Linked DNA regions of Homo sapiens: region 1 is linked to region 2. Evidence: promoter capture Hi-C in human tissues and cell types (Jung and others, 2019). All regions are on one chromosome and are shown on one strand. Each heading gives the region's core, a stretch centred on a gene start or on the middle of the fragment in contact. The rest is flanking DNA. Distances are from core to core; before and after follow the strand shown. Region 1 holds the start of BAG3 (BAG cochaperone 3). Region 2 holds the start of NANOS1 (nanos C2HC-type zinc finger 1).

Region 1 (2,700 bases), core at 53-2,552, 620 kb after region 2:
TTTAAAGAGATAGGGTCTTGCTCTGTCGCTTAGGTTGGCATGAAGAGCAAAATCATAGCTCATGGCAGCTTCAAACTCCTGGGCTCAAATGAGCCTCCCACCTCAGCCTCCTGAGTAGCTGGGACTACAGGCATAAGCCACTGCACCTGGCTTATTTTTTGTTTATGCAGAGATGGGGGTCTTACTGTGTTGTCCAGGCTGGTCTCAAACTCCTGGACTCAAGAGGTCCTCCAGTCTTGACTTTCCAAAGTGCTGGCATTATAGGCATGAGCCATGGTGGCAAGCCCTCATCAGTTATTTTTCTATGATTCTGTCTCTCTGTCCCCTCCTTACAAGGAAAGTAATTTTGAAACAACCAATCCAGTCTTGGTTCTTTGTTTCTGCTTTCTTCAGCCCTTCTCTGTCTATAAAACCAACCTCTTCTGCTCAGCTCATGGGAGCACTTATTCTAATTTAATGGAGATGTTGCCCAATTTCTAGAATCACAAATAAGATCTTTAACAATAAAAGTTAAAAAATGAAAATCAACAACAACAACAACAAAAAAGATCTTTAAATGTGTTGTAATTTTCTCCTTTGACAGGTTACAAGTGCAATTGAATAAACCAAACAAAAAATGTCATGGTTATTCGGTCTTTACTTCCCAAATCAGGGTCAAGATATAAGATAGCAAGAACCAATCTCTACCATAAAAAAGATCCAGACCCAAGAAAATGTGATTTATCTTTAAAGCTGCAACGAAACTTTCTTTTTAGTCTAGGAGACTAAAAGCCATCAGTTGATACAATCTCTTTTTTTCTTGAAGTTTCCAAAGGAAGGCAGGTGAGTTTGCACTGACTTCCATTTTCTCCCTGGCTTCCTTCCGGTGTCAGATGAGAGTCCCCGCGCTCCTCCCGGACAGCCCTCAGGGTCCTCGGCTATCATATATGGGGGAGGGGGTGGAGGTGGGCGAGATGGTTTTGTTTGTACAGGAAGGACGGGCGGCAGGCACGGGGAGCACGGGCTCCGGCCCCGGGAACACTCACTCGGCGCAAAGGAGAGGGAGAGAGCGACTATGAAAGCCGAAACCCGCCCGGGGCGCACGGAGGACGGCCCCAGTCCAGCTCGTCCGGCTTCCCACCCGCAGGCGGACCCCGAAGCCGCGCCCGCGCCCGCCCGCGGCGACTCCGGCCCGGGCACGCGCACGAGTCGGAAGGGGGAGGGGCGGGAGGAGGTGGGGGAGGGGCGAGCGGGCCGAGGCCCCGCCCCCGCTCCTCTGCCCCGCCCGCCGCGATTATAGCCGATGACTCAGGGCGGAGCTCCGCATCCAACCCCGGGCCGCGGCCAACTTCTCTGGACTGGACCAGAAGTTTCTAGCCGGCCAGTTGCTACCTCCCTTTATCTCCTCCTTCCCCTCTGGCAGCGAGGAGGCTATTTCCAGACACTTCCACCCCTCTCTGGCCACGTCACCCCCGCCTTTAATTCATAAAGGTGCCCGGCGCCGGCTTCCCGGACACGTCGGCGGCGGAGAGGGGCCCACGGCGGCGGCCCGGCCAGAGACTCGGCGCCCGGAGCCAGCGCCCCGCACCCGCGCCCCAGCGGGCAGACCCCAACCCAGCATGAGCGCCGCCACCCACTCGCCCATGATGCAGGTGGCGTCCGGCAACGGTGACCGCGACCCTTTGCCCCCCGGATGGGAGATCAAGATCGACCCGCAGACCGGCTGGCCCTTCTTCGTGGACCACAACAGCCGCACCACTACGTGGAACGACCCGCGCGTGCCCTCTGAGGGCCCCAAGGTGAGCCGGGCCCGCGGCCCGCCCTGGTCGGTGGCGCCACCTCGACGGCAGGCGGCGGGGAGTGGGCTGGGCCGGGGGGACGCGAGGCGGCGGGGCCCGGGGGTCGGCGAAGGCCCCTCGCGGGCGGACACCGGCTCCGCGCCCCGCCACACACTCCCGCTGCGCCCGGACGAGTCCCCGCTCCGGACCCGCCCTTGACAGGCGTCGGGGCGAAAGGAGGCCCCGGGATTCGGTGGCCCGGGAAGCGACCCCGCAGTGGCTCCGGTGCCGTCCACGGCTCGACTCCAGGGCGGAAGGCCGGGTGTCCAGCGCTGGCCTCGCGCTCTAGGGCTGGGAGAGGGGCGGCCGGCCTGGTCAGCTCCGGAGGCCCCGGCCCACCGTGGCCCCTGCTGCCCGCTCGGCCTCCGGGCCCGGGACCCGCGGCGCACCCTGCTGACCGCGGACTCGAGGGGGACACTCGCAAGCTTGGATGGTGGTTTTGGGGGGAATTTTACCGCTCAAGTTCTCCAACTTGGTTGAGGGGTATCTTGGCTACTGTCCCATGTTAGGCACCCAATGACTCTGGAGGCTGGTGTCAAAACATTCATATATATATGTGTGTGTGTGTATTTTAAATTAAAATTGTATTATTGTTTGAAAGTGCTTTCAATATGAACGTATCCTAGTATGATTTGTAAAATAAAAAACAGGGTGTGCTTCTCCCCAGCAGTTTCTAGAGATCTAGACTAGAGATCTGAGACTGTCTTACAGTTGGCCATTGCCTTACCACATTGCCTCACACTGGAGAGAAAGAGAATGATACGTGTATATTTATAATGGCATTCGCTTCCTGCCTTGTTATGGTATTAAAATACTTAGGATTTGTTACCAGTACACAAATAACTGACTAATGATACTCTTGTGAATACAGCAGAAGTATGTC
Region 2 (2,700 bases), core at 172-2,671:
AATCAAGAAGAAAAAAGAAAGAGTGAGAAAGAAAGAAAGAGGCCAGACGCGGTGGCTCACGCCTGTAACACCAACACTTTGGGAGGCCAAGGCAGGCGGATCGCGAGGTCTGGAGTTCAAGACAAGCCTGGCCAACATAGTGAAACCCCGTCTCTACTAAAATACAAAAAATTAGCCCGGCATGGTGGCGGGCATCTGTAATCCCAGCTGCTTGGAAGGCTGAGGCAGGAGAATTGCTTGAACCCGGGATGCGGAAAGAAAAGAAAAAAAAAGAAAGAAAAGGAAGGAGGGAAAGAAGGAAGGAAGGAAGGAAGGAAAGAAGGAAGGAAAGAAGGAAGGAAGGAAGGAAGGAAGGAAGGAAGGAAGGAAGGAAGGAAGGAAGGAAGGAAGACAAAATATAACATTGAATACACGTTGTTTTTCAAACTGCACATACAACCCACATTTTGACTCAGGCCTCTGGGGCGAGGGGGTACACACACACACACACATCCCAGTCACTGTCCTAGGCTCTCCAGCCATGAGATTTTCCGGCCCAGCCCCAACCCCGACCTAAGTAACCGGCTATCGGCCACCCATTGGCTGAAGTCCCTGAGCACCTGTTGGGAGGAAGGCTGCTGCGTGCAGCCGGAAAGTCCTGCGTCCCTCCGCTCTTACCGCGGCAGGAACCACAGCCTCCCCGAACCTCAGGGTTTGTATGGATTTCGCCCAGGGGAAAGCGCTCCAACGCGCGGTGCAAACGGAAGCCACTGGCTGGTTGGGCGGCTGTGATGGGAGAGCTGCATCCTTCCAACGCGTCCAGCTTTTCATGCTGATGTTGGTGAGAAGGGGGTGGATAGCGGGGATTCTCAGGATTAGGGCCTAGGGCCATTAAAGGCTGGGAGGTGGGGGCGTAAACCTGTGGCCACCCTGACCCCTGTCCTCGGGGGGCCTCACCACCAGGCCGAGGAGACCCAGGCCTGGTCACCTGCTCCAAGCCCAGGCCCGGCGCTCGAATGCGGGCCCCAGCGGCCCTCCCTTCCCGGCCCTTCTCTCCCCTACTTTCTCCTCACCTCCCAGCTGCGCGGAGAACACGCCCCCTCCCCGTGTTCCCACCAATCAGCGTCCGGAGCGGCGCCCGAGGCGCCGGGGGGCTCTGGTCTGCAGCCAATGAGCGCCACGGCTCGAGGCGGCGCCTCGCCCGCCCCCTCCCGGAATGAAGGCCGCCCGACAGCTGGCGAGGCTGGCGCAGCGCGCGGGGCGCGGGAGCCGCGCGGGCTGGAGCGGAGCGCGCACACAGCCAGCCCGCCTCCGCTCCGCCTCCGTCCGGGGCGCGGGCGAGGTGGCCGGGGCGGGGGAACGCAGGGGGCAGGGCCGCGGCGGCGAGGCCGGGGGGCGGGGAGGAGTGGGCCCGATAAAAGGCGGCGCGGCGGCCCCACCCCGCGGCAGGCCGGCGGGCAGGCTCGGCGTGTCCCTTCCGTCCGGCCCGCGCCGGCGGCGGGGAGGCGGCGCGCGGCCCGCAGCCCGCCCATGGAGGCTTTCCCCTGGGCGCCCCGCTCGCCCCGCCGCGGCCGCGCCCCCCCGCCCATGGCGCTCGTGCCCAGCGCCCGCTACGTGAGCGCCCCGGGCCCGGCGCACCCGCAGCCCTTCAGCTCCTGGAACGACTACCTGGGGCTCGCCACGCTCATCACCAAAGCGGTGGACGGCGAGCCGCGCTTCGGCTGCGCCCGCGGTGGGAACGGCGGCGGCGGCTCCCCGCCCTCCTCCTCCTCGTCGTCCTGCTGCTCCCCCCACACGGGGGCCGGGCCTGGGGCGCTGGGGCCGGCGCTGGGGCCGCCCGACTACGACGAGGACGACGACGACGACAGCGACGAGCCGGGGTCCCGGGGCCGCTACCTGGGGAGCGCGCTGGAATTGCGCGCGCTGGAGCTGTGCGCGGGCCCCGCCGAGGCCGGGCTGCTGGAGGAGCGCTTCGCCGAGCTGAGCCCGTTCGCGGGTCGTGCCGCCGCCGTGCTGCTGGGCTGCGCGCCCGCCGCCGCCGCCGCCGCCACCACCACCAGCGAGGCGACGCCGCGCGAGGAGCGGGCCCCGGCGTGGGCGGCCGAGCCCCGGCTGCACGCGGCCTCCGGGGCGGCGGCCGCCCGGCTGCTGAAGCCCGAGCTGCAGGTGTGCGTGTTCTGCCGGAACAACAAGGAGGCGATGGCGCTCTACACCACCCATATCCTCAAGGGCCCCGACGGGCGAGTGCTGTGTCCCGTGCTGCGCCGCTACACGTGTCCCCTGTGCGGCGCCAGCGGCGACAACGCGCACACCATCAAGTACTGCCCGCTCTCCAAAGTGCCGCCGCCGCCCGCCCGCCCGCCGCCCCGCAGCGCCAGGGACGGCCCGCCTGGCAAGAAGCTGCGCTGAAGGCCCGGGCTCCCGGCCGCCCAGGGTCGCCGCCGCCCCTCGCACCGCTAGGTCTGCGCACCATCTCGCCCCCGCCGTGGGGAGGCGTGCGGCTCAGCGGTCGGCTCGACATGGGACGTCGTCCTGGTGGTTTTTGAAAAGCAGCCGACCGTGTGGAGTACTTCCGTGCTGAACGATTGGGACTAGACGCTGAAATCCCCATTTGTCTTCAGTTTCTAGTTTGCACATCCAGAACGGCGAAGGCTGGGTGTGTATTCCACTAACTGAAATATGGCAACTTAGAGGCGCTGTTTATTTACTGTATACGTCGAC

Evidence for each region. Contacts are between HindIII fragments. The study calls those that stand out against the background at their distance.
Region 1: a contact is called between the fragment with the promoter of BAG3 here and the fragment with the promoter of NANOS1 in region 2, in 1 of the 25 tissues and cell types used here (IMR-90 fibroblasts).

The regions. Positions count from the first base shown.
Region 1 is chr10:119,650,078-119,652,777 of GRCh38, forward strand. It overlaps BAG3 (BAG cochaperone 3), which reads left to right and starts at 1,303. Exons shown (of 4, transcript NM_004281.4): 1 at 1,303-1,778. The coding sequence starts at 1,599. RefSeq lists enhancers at 441-1,395, 776-855 and a silencer at 1,056-1,355. The HindIII fragment of the contact is 7,134 bases long and covers 1-2,700 here.
Region 2 is chr10:119,028,293-119,030,992 of GRCh38, forward strand. NANOS1 (nanos C2HC-type zinc finger 1) reads left to right here and starts at 1,422. Exons shown (of 1, transcript NM_199461.4): 1 at 1,422-2,700. The coding sequence starts at 1,510. The coding sequence ends at 2,388. It overlaps LINC03036 (long intergenic non-protein coding RNA 3036), which reads right to left and starts at 1,279. Exons shown (of 4, transcript NR_186540.1): 1 at 1,053-1,279. RefSeq lists an enhancer at 699-1,199 and silencers at 1,024-1,493, 1,614-1,823, 2,194-2,493. The HindIII fragment of the contact is 19,263 bases long and covers 1-2,700 here.